2 separate regions of the Homo sapiens genome follow, and region 2 is linked to region 1. The links are contacts of gene promoters, found by promoter capture Hi-C in blood cells and fetal thymus (Javierre and others, 2016). All regions are on one chromosome and are shown on one strand. Each heading gives the region's core, a stretch centred on a gene start or on the middle of the fragment in contact. The rest is flanking DNA. Distances are from core to core; before and after follow the strand shown. Region 1 holds the start of RBMX (RNA binding motif protein X-linked). Region 2 overlaps ARHGEF6 (Rac/Cdc42 guanine nucleotide exchange factor 6).

Region 1 (6,734 bases), core at 2,069-4,568:
GTCATAGAAACTGGGGAAATAAGAACTGAAGGTAGTCTTAAAAAACTTTTTTTTTTTTTTTTTGAGAGGGAGTCTCGCTGTTCCCCCAGGCTGGAGTACAGTGGCACGATCTCAACTCACTGCAACCTCTGCCTCCCAAGTTCAAGTGATTCTTCTGCCTCAGCCTCCGTAGTAGCTGGGATTACAGGCACCTGCCACCACGCCCAGCTAACTTTAAAAAATAAAAATGATTTCATTTTCATGTCCAACACCCTGGCCTATCAATTTTTAAATGCCTTTCCTACAGAGTGAACTACTTGGACAAGAAGTAACACTGTCCACGGTTTAACACCATAATCTAAAACATGCTTCCCATGCTTTCAATTGGCAATCACTTTGGTAGATGAACAAGTGTTGTCAATTTCAAAAGTTGGCACCTTTCCTCAAGGACTTAACCAAAGCATCCACTTGGTGTGAGCTTGCAGTCCCTAACTTATACACCAAACCCGAGGTCCACGCAAGTTATTACCCATGTGTCCTCCCCGTGAGGGAGGTCCCCTGGTTCCTCCACTTCCTCCTCTTCCACCTCTAAGACCTCTTGGAGGGCCTCTACTTCTTGGAGGTGGAGGCGGTCCACGTCTACCACTTTCAAATGATGGTTTGGTGGCTTGTTCCACCTTGATGGCTTTTCCATCTAATGACTAAAAAAAAAGATACGATTAAATTAAATCAAGATTTAAAAATAATTTGCACATCTACTATGCACTAAGACACTAACTGGTCCTTCAAAATGCAGTTATGGGTAAGTGTTGCTCATTAGTCTAAGAAAAAACACTGCAAATATAGTCAGTTTACATAAATGGGGCTTTTCCGCTTAAAATTCTTAATACTTAAAACCGATACTGATGATCTGGATTGAAACATAAGGTGAACCCACTGCATTATTGTATGGTAAAATTTAAAACAAGGCCAAGTAGGTATCAGCTTGTTATCAAAACTAGTAGCCAAAACCAAAAGCCAAGTTATCAAAATATGGCTTATGGATCTCAAGATAAAATGTATCATGTTGGCTGGGCGCAGTGGCTCGCAGTGTCTCACACCTGTAATCCCAGTACTTTGGGAGGCGGAGGCAGCTGGATCACCTGAAGTCAGGAGTTTGAGACCAGCCTGGCCAACATGGTGAAACCCTGTCTCTACTAAAAATACAAAGTTAGCCGGGCGTGGTCGCGCATGCCTGTAATCCCAGCTACTGGGGGGGGGGGGGGGGGCTGAGGCAGAAAAATCGCTTAGAACTCGGGAGACAGGCTGCAGTGGGCACTGCACCATTGCACTCCAGGCTAGGCAACGGAGGGAGACTATCAAAAAAAAAAAAAAAAAAGTACCATGTAATGCCATAATTATTCTGAACTGAGAGAATGTTACGAGCATAAGATATAACTCACTACTAGATTTGGTTCTGCAATTACAGAATACTCTTTGGAACAGGATCACAAACAGGATGAGTGGATCCCAGACAGGTATATACTGAAAAACAACGAAAACTCAAAAGCTGTCCTAGACCAGACTTGGACAACTACATGTTATTTTATGCACTAGTAACAGGTTATCATCCATCGTGTAGACAATCTCACCTTTCCATTCATGTCTCTGGCTGCATCCTTAGCGTCTGCTGGGCTTTCAAAGGTGACAAAAGCAAATCCTCTTGATTTGTTGGTTTCACGGTCTTTCATCAAGAGTACTAAAAAGTAGTTTTCAGAAAAATAAAGTGTTACCCTAGGTCAAATGAAATAACCAAAGTAAATGTGTAAACAGAAAGCTCAGAACTTCTTAGAGGACAAAAATACATTATCATGTCAGACGATCAATGCAATCAAATTCATCATAGCTTATATTTTAATTATAATAGCCCAGCCTGTACTGCCAGACAACTCACCTTCCACTATTCGTCCATATTTGCCAAATACTGCTTCAAGAGCTTTCTCATTTGTTTCCGTATTAAGCCCACCAATGAAGAGCTTTCCTGGGCGATCTGCTTCAACCATGTTTTTTTTTTTTTGGGCCGGTGAGTCTGTTGAAAAGGAATAGTATTACCTCACTGCAAAAAGTTCCTCAAGTTTATTGGACACTTTTACTTTCGCACATTTCTCATATTTTCCACTAAAACCATTGTTCCTTAATAACTAAAGAAAACGATAACGAGCTAAGCCTCAGCCACAGTAGGAAGCAATTTGAACTAAGTAGTTTAGTAACACTGCAATTTACATAAAACTGGTTAAAAGGGCCAACTTAACTTTTACCACTACCCTTGATCACCCTTAGCTGTTCTTAAGCAACAGCTGCTTAACATTTGAAAAAGCAACTTTTAGTTCCAGTCCTCTTGCCTTTGAAAGATTCAATTACTCATCACACCCTTCCTAACGATGGTTTTAAAAGACTCCCAAGGTCACAGGCTAGACACAGGACCTTAACACCAAGCCCTCTTCCAACGACTCCTCTTTTCCTCATTAGGATTCCCTACTAAATCCAAGGAGAAATGTGAAGTTTAAGCCAAGTTATGCCGCCCCTCTTCTTCACCGGCCCCCGCCCTACCGAAAATTCTACTATCCGGCCAAAAAGATAAAAACAAATCGTCAACATCGTTTGCTATTAAGTAACGGAACGCGGACGCACACACTAACACTCGACACTCCGTGACTGCAGCGGAACCTAATTAAAACTCGTCATTAAAAACCGCGTGTAAAAGACAAAATGGCGACACTTGGATTCAACCCAGAACCACCGACACTGGTCAGGGGACTAACTTTTACCACCAACATTGGCTGGGAACATTCAGAGGGCTTCTTCTCCGGGGCCGCCAATGAATACGAAGCCCGCAGCCCGCATGGAAGTCCACATGCCCATCATTAGCGCCAGCGCCATACCAATGCAGGTATCGCCGTGGTGCGGTCGCTCCTCGCCCCGCTCCAGCCTACAAAGCCCCGACCTCCGCTACCAACTCCCGCAGATGGCAGCCAAACTTTCTCGAGAAGCATACAACCAAACGGGCCCCCTCATTTGTTTTCCCTCGACCCCCTCAGCTTTATTTAAATAGGTCGGAACCTTTGGGTTCTTAAAATGGCGCCCGCCACCCCCATCTCCAGGGAGATATAATCCCCAGTCCTAACACGGGGAGAGTGTCACGAAAAACGGACTGAGGAAAGGAGACACGTACCGGAGGGGTGACAATGGGTTCAAGCTCCAACGAGCTCGGCGATAGGGGCTTCCTAGCAGCTCAGCACCAGTGGCGGCTGCCGGGTGCGAGGACCGAACCGCGAAGCCGCTAGCACTACTGCGCAACGAGGGCGAACAAAGGAGACAGCAAACTTTATACTGCCCGGGAACGAGGCTGAAGGACCCGGATGGAAACGGAGCTTAGAATTTGAAACGCAAAGGGAGGGGGGAAGTAGTTCCCAGTCTCCCCATTGGCTGGCTCCTCTGTCATTCACCCTTCTCTCCTCCCTTTTTCCCGGGCCCTCGGTGTTGGGTCGACAGACCTTTCTAACCGTTTTCTCTACCCCCACCCGTTCTTTACAAACGCGCTTTTTTTGCTTTACGCTAAAATGGTGCACAGGCTTCCTTTAATAAAGAACTGAAGTTTATTGAGCGTCCTAGTGGGCCGGGCACGGTGCAAAACTTTACTTTTACTTTTCCATTAACTCTTCTAATTGTCAAAATGTGATGAGGGTAGATACTCCTACTATACCAATTTTGCAGAAACGGAAAACAAAGAAGTTTTGGCAATATAATATATTTTCAAAAATTGTCTTTAACAAGTGTTTTTAGTGAGTGTGGGAATTTCTGATAAATACATGTAAATTTCAGATGAGTAAAAAACGTACAAAACAGCATGCAGATAGTACATTCATATAGAACAATTACTGAGCACCTTGTAAATGGTGGGCTCTGGGCTAGGCCAGGAAAATACAACTCCAGGGAAAAGACAAGAGTCAGGCCTGTGGGTAAGGATGCCGGATTTAATAAATGAAAATACCAGGCCGGGTGCAGTGGCTCACGCCTGTAATCCCAGCACTTTGGGAGGCCAAGGTCGGTGGATCACGAAGTCAGGAGATGGAGACCATCCTGGCTAACACGGTGAAACCCCGTCTCTTTTTAAAAATACAAAAAATTACCCAGGCGTGGTGGCACGCGCCTGTAGTCCCAGCTACTCGGGAGGCTGAGGCAGGAGAATCCGGGAGGCGGAGGTTGCAGTGAGCCAAGACTGCGCCACCGCACTCCAGCCTGGGCAGGCGACAGAGCGAGACTCCGTCTCAAAATAAAAAAGAAAATGCGGGACGCTAATTTATTCTGCGAAGCTGTTAAAAAATTTTAAATAAAAATATGGGACGCGGCCGGGGCGCGGTGGCTCATGCCTGTAATCCTAGCACTTTGGGAGGCCGAGGCGGGCAGATTGCCTGAGCTCAGGGGTTTGAGACCAGCCTGGGCAACATGGTGAAACCCCGTCTCTACTAAAATAAAAATAAAAAATAAAAAAATTAGCCGGGCGTGGCGGCGTGTGCCTGTAGTCCCAGCTACTCGGGAGGCTGAGGCAGGAGAATTGCTTGAACCCAGGAGGCGGCGGTTGCAGTGAGCCAAGATCATACCACTGCACTCCAGCCTGGCAACAGAGCGAGACTTCGTCTAAAAAAAAAAAAAGGGACGCCCAGTTAAGTTTAAATTTCAGATAACGAATACTTTTTTTAGTATAGTATGTCCCAAATCTCATATTTTAAAAATTCGCTGTTTATCGGAAATTCAAATTTAACTGAGCATTCTATATTTCATCTGCCCATCCTACTTGTTGAGGGGGGAAACCAAAAAATTTTTTAATTTTTTTCTTAAAGAAATTGAATACAATTAACAAAAGAATGGCATGTTGTGATTAATGCCAGGGAGGAAATAAACTAGTTGCTTTGATGGACAATATTAGGGAGAACAAATTTGATTAAAACATCAGGGAAGGTCTATGTGAAGAGGTGACTTTGGAGATCAGAGCTGAAGGAAGAAAAGAAACTAGCTATGGGAACAGCTGAGGGAAAAACCTTCAGGAAAAGAAGAGAATAGTAAACACAAAGTAGAGAGGAAGAGCTTGGCATATATCAAGGGACAGAAAGAGGGCCAGGTGACAAGAATATGAGGGGCATGAAATGAGGGAGCCAAGATTGGCAGGACCTTTGAGCCCATTAAATGACTGTAGGGGGTAAGTGTGGGAAAAAGGACACTAATAGGGCTGTGGGAGCAGACCAGAAAGAGAGGATGGTGGCTTGAATCAGGGTGGCGGCAGTGGACACGGGGAGGAAAGAACAATTGTTAGATGAATATGATAGGTATCGTGTTTAATGGTGCTATGGTCTAAATGTTTGTGTCCTCCCCCAAATTCATATGTTGAAATCCTAATACCCAAGGTGATGGCATTAGGAGGCGGGGATTTGGGGAGAAGATTAGGTCACAAAAGGGTAGGGTCCTCATGAATGGGATTAACACTTTTATAAAAGAGGCCCCTGTCCACCATGTGAGAACACAGTGAGGTGCCACTTATATGAACCAGAAAACTGGTGGTGGTGGGCCCTCACCAGACACTGAATATGCTGGCGTCTTTATCTTGGACTTCCCAGCCTACAAAAATGTGAGAAATAAATTTCTGTTGTTTATAAGCCAGCCAGTTTATGGTATTTTGTTATAGTAGCAGGAATGGACTAAGACAGATGGGAAAGGGGTGGGGAAGAATTGCGGAAAAAGAAAATCATTATGGATGACTCCAAGTATCTGGTATTAGTGGGACAGATGGTAACAGTCATTTACCAAAATGGTTTCAGAGGAGCAAGTTTGGGATATAGGGGCAGAAAAATCTGAAGCTCAGAGCATAGATCTGTGCTAAATTATCATCTCAGAGATGTAATAAAAGCCATCAGAATGAATGAAACCACCAAACAAGAGAGTACAGTGGGAAAAGAAGGCCCAAGATCACATAATATGAGCTATTAAAAAAATACATATGGAGACAAAATAACTGGGAGGAAATATGCCAAAATGTTACCAGTTTATCTTGGAGTGGTAGAATTTATGGACAATTTTCACTTTTCTTCTTCTTCTTCTCCTTTTTTTTTTGTTTGTTTTTTTGTTTTTTTGAGAAAGAGGTTCGCTCTCATTGCCCAGGCTAGAGTGCACTGGTGCGATCTTGGGTCACTGCAACCTCTGCCTCCCGGGTTCAAGCGATTCTCCCGTCTCCGCCTCCTGAGTAGCTGGGATTACAGGCATACGCCACCATGCCCGGCTAATTTTGTATTTTTAGTAGAGACAGAGTTTCACCATGTTGGCCAGGCTGGTCTCAAACTCCTGACCTCAGGTGATACGCCCGCCTCGCCCTCCCAAAGTGCTGAGATTACAGGCCTGAGCCACCGTGCCGGGCCTTTTCTTCTTCATAGTTACAATTACCTGCCCATGGTGAATTTTGGTATATGCCAGGCAGGTTGTAGTAAATAATATTCAGGTCACGGGTAAAAGCCCCCAAGGAGCTTCGAAACCAGCTCTGAATTATTAACATTAATAGGGGGAGTAATGCCCAGTAGGACAAGAATATTTGTTCTTGTTTTTTTTCCCCCAGCCAAATAATAAAAAGTAAGGCAAAACTCATGTCCATTTGCCTTTTGAATGAGTTCTGTAAATTATAGACTCTGGAGTCATTTGGGAACTGGCAAAAATGGCTTAAATACCAGGCT
Region 2 (6,734 bases), core at 2,962-5,461, 110 kb before region 1:
AGGCTCCAGTTCCTACCTTTGAAAAGTTCTGAGACTAGCAGATGTGTTCACAAAAAAAAACAAAGCAAGGGTGGACGAGCAGTATAAAGGTAGCTTGGCACAAGGGATTATGGGAAAATAAGTGTAAGCTGCCCAATTTTGCTGAGAAGACTGTCCAGAAGATTCCAGGCTGAGAAGAAAGTTGGTATCTCCTTCTGTATGGTTCTCAGCTTAGTGGCAGACAGTTGAGGTCACTAGGTTGCTGAACGCTGGATAAACCAGGGAAATGGTTCTCAACTCTGGATACACATTAGAATCACTTGCAGAGCTTTCAAAAAAAAAAAAATCACAAGGCTTGTCTGATTTGGGAAATGGCTGGACAGTACCTACTAAAGCTGAACACATGCAGACCCTATGACGTAGCAGTGACACTGTAATGCATAAACCCAACAGAAATGGGTGTATATATTCTCCAGGAGACACTCACGAGGATCTTCATAGCAGCATTGTTCACAGCAAACAAAAACTGGAAACAATGTAGATGTCCATCAACAAGTGAATAGAAAAACAAAACATGGTATATCCATACAATGAAATATTATACAGCAAGAAAAAAAGTGAACCACTACTACCTGCAACAACACGGGTGACTTGTACAAATATTATGCTGAGTGAAAGAAACCTCATACAAACAAGTACATACTGTATGAGTCCGCTCATATAGAGTACCAAAACAGGTGGGAAGGCAGGGTATCTACTACGATAGTGGTGGATAGTCATGATAGTAGTGCCCCTTGGTGAGGCATAGTGACTGGGAAGGGGCACGAGGATAGCTTCTGGGCACCAATCCTGTTCTGTTTCTTAATAAGGGTGCAGACTGTATGAGTGTGTCAGTTTGCGAAGATTCACCAAACTATATACTTAGGATTTGTGCAATTTCCCGAATGTAAATATAAAGTTGATTTAAGCATTTTTTTAAAAAAGGAATACCAGTGGCTGGGCCTCATTGCGGACCAATTAACTCAAAATCTCTGGGTTATAAGACCCCAAAATTTGTATTTTTAAAAAGTATCCCAAGTGACTCCAATGTACAGCCATGTCTGAAAACAAAGGAGCTAGGTGTTCCTGTATTTATCAATAGCTTTGGGGGCAACAGCAGCCTAGCACAAGGCAAAGGGAATGAGTTCTGGAGTCAGGTACATCAGTGATTACATTCCGGTTCTTCTTTGCACTGGCAGTGTGAGGCATCAGTCTGGATCATCTCCAAACCTTGGTTTCCACCAGGGTATAATGAGTACAATGCCACCTACCTCCCAGGAGTGTTGCAAGGGCTAAATATGATAATAGATTTAAAGCACCTAGCATAGTGCCTGGAACATAGGAGGTGCCTGAGAAATGGTAGATACTCAACTCCTTTTCCTCCTTTGCATCTACGGTCCTAAGCACAGTGATAAACAGATTGCTATAAAAGAACAAAACTCATACTCTTCAATTTCCTCTCCTGAATGAGTTTCTTTGTAAAGATTGAAGTAATGTTATACTTGGACTAATGATGTCAAATGAATATCAGAAATTTCTGGGCCCTGGCTACTCACTCTATTCAGCACCTGCTCTCCCTGAATGTGAGTAGAGAAGAGGCAGACTGTAGGTAAATAGAAACCACAGACCATCCTTTGAAAAACTCTCCTCCTGTCCTTACCCCTAAGAACAGCGCCAGCCCTGCACAAGCAAAGACAAGGCTGAGATGTGAGTAGGCAAAAAGAATAGAAAAAATTAGTAGCTTGGAAGACATACCATCCATAAAATGTGCCACATAAAACACTTTTGTATAAAATGTCACATTTTAGTAAAAATAAACGAACAAAGAAAAAACCTAGGCTGAAAGCAGGAGGTCCAGGTTAGAGTTTTGATCCTACCAGTGATAAGCTGTATGACTTCGATTAACTAAACTTTTCTGTTTCTTTGTCAAGTGAAAGTAATGCCATCTCTCCTACATCCTTTACAAGGGCACGGGGAGTTTCAGATAACTAGAAGGCATTCAAAAAATTAAGCACCAAAGAAATGCAATATGAGAATAGTAGCTGGAAATTTACTTTGTTCAAAACTCCAATCATCTGCACAGCACCCAGACTAAGACAGAACACTCCCTTGTTTTAACTGCTCTAAGCACACCCAAAGAGTACACCAGCCTGAAGCTGGCTTATTATGTAAGAAGGGACTGCAGCATTGCCTGGCATGTAGCATAATACTTTGCTGAAGAGAAATCCTTGGAAATGCCTCAGCTGAAGCACAAGGGCAGGCCCAGGCCTTACATTTTGGAGAGAGGTGCTCTCAGTCACAGAATTCCAGACTGTGGCTGGAGCAAATGATGTCATCAGAGATCCTCTTACCATGGTCAATGTCAAAATTAAGATAGGAAGTCCAAGGACACTATGAGTTTTCCAGGCAAATATAAGTTTAAAAAAAAACAGTTTGAACCTTTGAATCTTGCCTTTAAAATTATTAATACTTTACAGAGCATAAACTGAAATTTATCCTATTTTGTGAGGTTTTTTTTGGGGGGGGGTTATGCAAAGTTTTTATTGACCAAAATATACATAATTGCAGAGGAAAATATATTCATTTACTGTATTTTTACTCCCACTACACATTAAGAAAAGGGAAAAATATCATGTGAGTTACCCCTCTATCCAAAAACAATAACAAATCAAAAATGAAAATATAAGACCTTTGAAGAGGCAGAGATAAACTTGAGGGCTCTCCGCTGCAGAGCTAAGAAACGAAATAGCTCAAATACCTGTTGGGTTCCTAAATGACTGGAAAATGAAAACTTGTAATTAACTACAGGCACTTTGGAACACCTTGTAGAATACAGGTCTTTTCCATCTACAAACCATTCCTGCGACAGATCTCTGTACTTAATGCAGAAAACATCTCCAAATGTATGGATGCTCGGGGTTGGGAGGGCATCACAGTAGTATTAAAAATGGTACTGTTGACTCCTGCTCTGGTTCTGGGGGAAGGAAAGAATCCAGTCGGATGCAAACCTTGCGGCCAGAGCTGGACAACTCGCCCCTAAGTTTGGCGCGTCCTCGCTCTGCGTCCTTGGCCCTCATCTCCCCCTTCCCGGCACCCTGGATCTCAGCGAACTGTGAGGCCCTGGCAGAGAACGGACCCCGCAGCTGGGGCTGCGAGCCACGGCAGTGGGGAAGAAGGGCGGTTCCTCTCCAAAGGGGGTCCTTCGGCACCCACCCCCGGGCCCTCGCGCGCTCCCCTTCCCCTGACCCTTTTGCCCCCAGGCAGGTCACCTGGCTCGGCCGCTGCCCGCCTGTCCTCCAGCTGCTCCCTCACTCCAGCCGCGCCGCCGCCGCCTCCTGGAAGCCGTTCGCCCTCCCGAGTCACGGGGCCGGCGAGCGGGCGGGCAAGCCTGTGCCAAGGCTGCGGGAACAGATCAACCCAGCCGGAGCTGGGACCCTGCCCTGAGCGCGGCCGCCACCAGGGCGAAACTGGAGAGCTGGGCTAGGCTCGCCCCAGCGGGGAGGGGCGGCTGCAACTTTGCGCCTGGACGCGGGCGAGGAGGGGGCGCCCGTCTCCAAACTCTGTGCCGCGCCCGCAACCTCTCCAGCCCAGGGATTGTTTTTTAATCTAAAGGGAAGTCAGAGTCTTGTCCTCAAGTTCTTGTTGCCATAGCCGTGCCGCTCGGCGGGCGGAGGATCGCGGGGCCGAACTGGGGGTGCCGGAGGCGCGCCCCGCTGGGTGCGCTGGCTGCGAGCCGGGCGAGGGTGCGCGGGGTGGCGAGTGGAGGGGAGCGACTGCCGGGGGAGCCAGCCCGCGAAGCTTCTCCAGACCACGCTCAGCTACCCGCGCCGGTCCCCTCCTGCCCGCAGCCGGAGCCGAGCAGCGGAGGGAAAGCGGCCTGGAGGCACTGGGCCAGCAGCGGGTAAGCAGTGACCCGGACCTGGATCGCAGAAGTAGGAACTGGAAGTGACAGCGGCGCAGGCAGAGCAGCAGCAGCAGCAGCAGCAGCAGCAGCAGCCCTGGTAGCTGTGGCAGCAGCAAAAGCCGCGGTGTACCCGCGGCGGCCACACTGCGCATGCTGCTGCCGCCCGCTTCAGCCCCTACCCGAGGGCTGCCGGTGCCTGGCATGTTGCGGGTCACTGCCAGAGCTTCGGGCGGGATTCCCGGACTCATGGACTAGCCCTTTCTGGTGGCCTGCTTCCTCCCTCACCCCCAGATGCAACTCAGAACCCCCAAACTCTATGGTGAGCCGCTGAGACACCCGAGAAGCGTTGGCTCTCCAGAGGCCCTTCACATACCACCCTTCCTCCAACTATCCTAGATGCCCTTCCCGGCCTCTCTGATAACAGGCCCCAAATCAAATAGTCTCTTTGAGAGAGAACGAAAATGTTCATGATAGATGGGAAATATTTAAAATCTTATTCAATGTCTAATTTTTACAGAAATACGATGCAATCTGTAAAACATTAGGATAGCCAGACTCATGGGTGACATTTAATGTAACTCTTGGAAATTCCATTAAGCATGTCAGATTTGCACAACAGAAGAAAAGAACTTGCCAAAATCCTCTTTGGTCTTCCTACTAGTTCCAACTGAGCAGCTAAATATGCAAAGCTTTGCCTAGCGGAAACTGATGGAAATGGGCAAGTTAAAAACAGACATTACAACCATTAGACATTACCCAACCCCTACTCTAGTCTCCTCATTTTACAGATGACTCAACTGAGGCCTGGGAAAGGAGATCCTGACTTCACACAAGTGGCAGGGTCAGGGCTTGAAGCAAGATCTGCTGATACCCGTTACAACTACTGGTAATTGTAGTGGTTAGGCCGGGCCTTGTGCCTAACTCCTCCCAGGAGGCACCGCGCTGCTAGATATTTAGTCTTGACTCATGATCATTAGTAGAGCTGCCTTACTTTCAGAACTGCTTCCCTGCAGAGCAGCCCCTGGGAAATGGCAAATCGTCCATCCCACAAGCCTCACTTTGGGGAGGGCACCCCTGCTGTTCCGGTGACAAGGCAGATGGAGTGACTCAGGGAGACAGGAGGGAATGAGGGGGTGGGGGCAGAGAAAAAAACATACTGCTACCAGCTGGTACTGGAAAGAAAGAAAGAGAGAGGGGGAGAAAGAGAGGGAGAGAGAGTAAGAGAGGGGGAAAGAGAGGAGGAAGAGAGGGAAGGAGGAAGAAAGAAAGTGAAATAAGTACTAATTGAATCTCATATACATTCAGTGAAATCCTTCCAGAATAAAATATCTTTAAAAAAAAATAAACTTGGGGCTGGGTGCGGTGGCTCCTGCCTATAATCCCAGCACTTTGGGAGGCAGATGCAGGTGGATCACTTGAGGTCAGGAATTCGAGACCAGCCTGGCCAACAGGGCGAAACCCTGTCTCTACTAAAAATACAAAAATTTGCGGGGCATGATGGCGGGCACCTGTAATCCCAGCTACTTGGGAGGCTGAGGCACAAGAATCACTTTAACCCGGGAGGTGGAGGCTGCAGTGAGCCTAGATCACGCCACTGCACTCCAGCTGGGTGACAGAGCGAGACTCCATCTCAAAAATAAATAAAAATAAATAAATAAATAATAAACTTGGCTCAGGAGCAGAATAGGAGATGGTAGGGTGTCCCTGGCAATGGGTTGGTAGTAATGGTGGAAGAGGACAAAGGCAGATTACCTTCTGGGGATAAGGCAGAGGAAAGGGTTGGCTAACAGGAAAACCATAGGTTTAGAGCTTTCAGAGACCAGTCGGTCATGTAGTTGTAGCCAGGACAATGCAATCAAAGAGGTACTACCCAGGCCATTCTTGACTGATCGGAAGAATTGTAGGTGTCCCCAACTCTCAGCAACTTCAGGGGCAACACAAAAATAAAACTGCCATTGCTAGAACTTGTGTTGTTGAGAGACATCAGTGACCCTCTACCTAGACAGGAGGATTCTTCCATATATTCTGGAAACTTCACTTGGGACCTGAGTATTTTCCCTGCCTTCTCCATTCTGTAAGAAAGTAAGAAAGATATATTTGGTTCACAAAAAGGAAATACAAATAGACTATAAAGGGATAAGAGGATGTCCAAACTCATTAGTAATCATGAAATACAAATTACAGCAATAAATGAAATGCCATTTTCATCCATCAGTTTAGCAAACATTAAAGACAAATAATATCCAGTGTTGCCAGGGACAGGAAGAAGACACTGTTTACACTATTGCTGAGAGTGTAACTTGGTATAACATTTTTGAAGGGCAATTTGACATTATCTATCACAATTTTACACAGTAATCCCATTTCTGTGAAGAAAGATCCTTCAAGAATAATCACTGATGTGCACAAATTTCTATGTGCATATATAACATGATCTACTGGGTTTTATCCCAGGAATGCAAGATTGATTTAATATATGAAAATCAATTGATGTAATACAGCATACAAATATAATAACAAACAAAAACCAGTGATCATTTTAACAGACGTAGAAAAAGCATTTGACAAAATCCAACTCTTTTCATGATAAAAAACAAAACAAAACACTTATAACAAACTCAGAATATAAAGAAACCTCAATCTGATAAAGGCCATTTACCAAAAACCCACATCTAACATCGTACTCAATGGTGAAAGACTGTCTGCTCTCATCACTTCTATTAAACATTGTACCAGAGGTTCCAGCCAGAAAAATTAGGGAAGAAAATGAAATAAAAGGCATCCAGATTGTAAAGGAAGAAGTAAAACTATC

What was found. The method cuts DNA at HindIII sites, captures the fragments that hold promoters and counts their contacts. A CHiCAGO score of 5 or more calls a contact.
Region 2: a contact is called between a fragment that was not itself captured here and the fragment with the promoter of RBMX in region 1, in 5 of 17 cell types (total CD8 T cells, activated CD4 T cells, neutrophils and 2 more). The highest score is 7.9, in total CD8 T cells.

Annotation. Positions count from the first base shown.
Region 1 is chrX:136,877,407-136,884,140 of GRCh38, forward strand. It overlaps RBMX (RNA binding motif protein X-linked), which reads right to left and starts at 3,319. Exons shown (of 9, transcript NM_002139.4): 1 at 3,191-3,319; 2 at 1,913-2,047; 3 at 1,611-1,717; 4 at 509-680. The coding sequence starts at 2,021. SNORD61 (small nucleolar RNA, C/D box 61) reads right to left here and starts at 1,865; the gene lies at 1,793-1,865. RefSeq lists enhancers at 2,244-2,843, 2,645-2,704, 2,715-3,174, 2,844-3,442. The HindIII fragment of the contact is 13,799 bases long and covers 1-6,734 here.
Region 2 is chrX:136,763,857-136,770,590 of GRCh38, forward strand. All of the region lies in intron 2 of ARHGEF6 (Rac/Cdc42 guanine nucleotide exchange factor 6), which reads right to left. Among named protein-coding and RNA genes, the nearest start is that of ARHGEF6, 14 kb to the right of the region's middle. RefSeq lists silencers at 3,229-3,358, 3,419-3,468, 3,473-3,641, 3,499-3,548, 3,559-3,838 and an enhancer at 4,571-4,680. The HindIII fragment of the contact is 795 bases long and covers 3,815-4,609 here.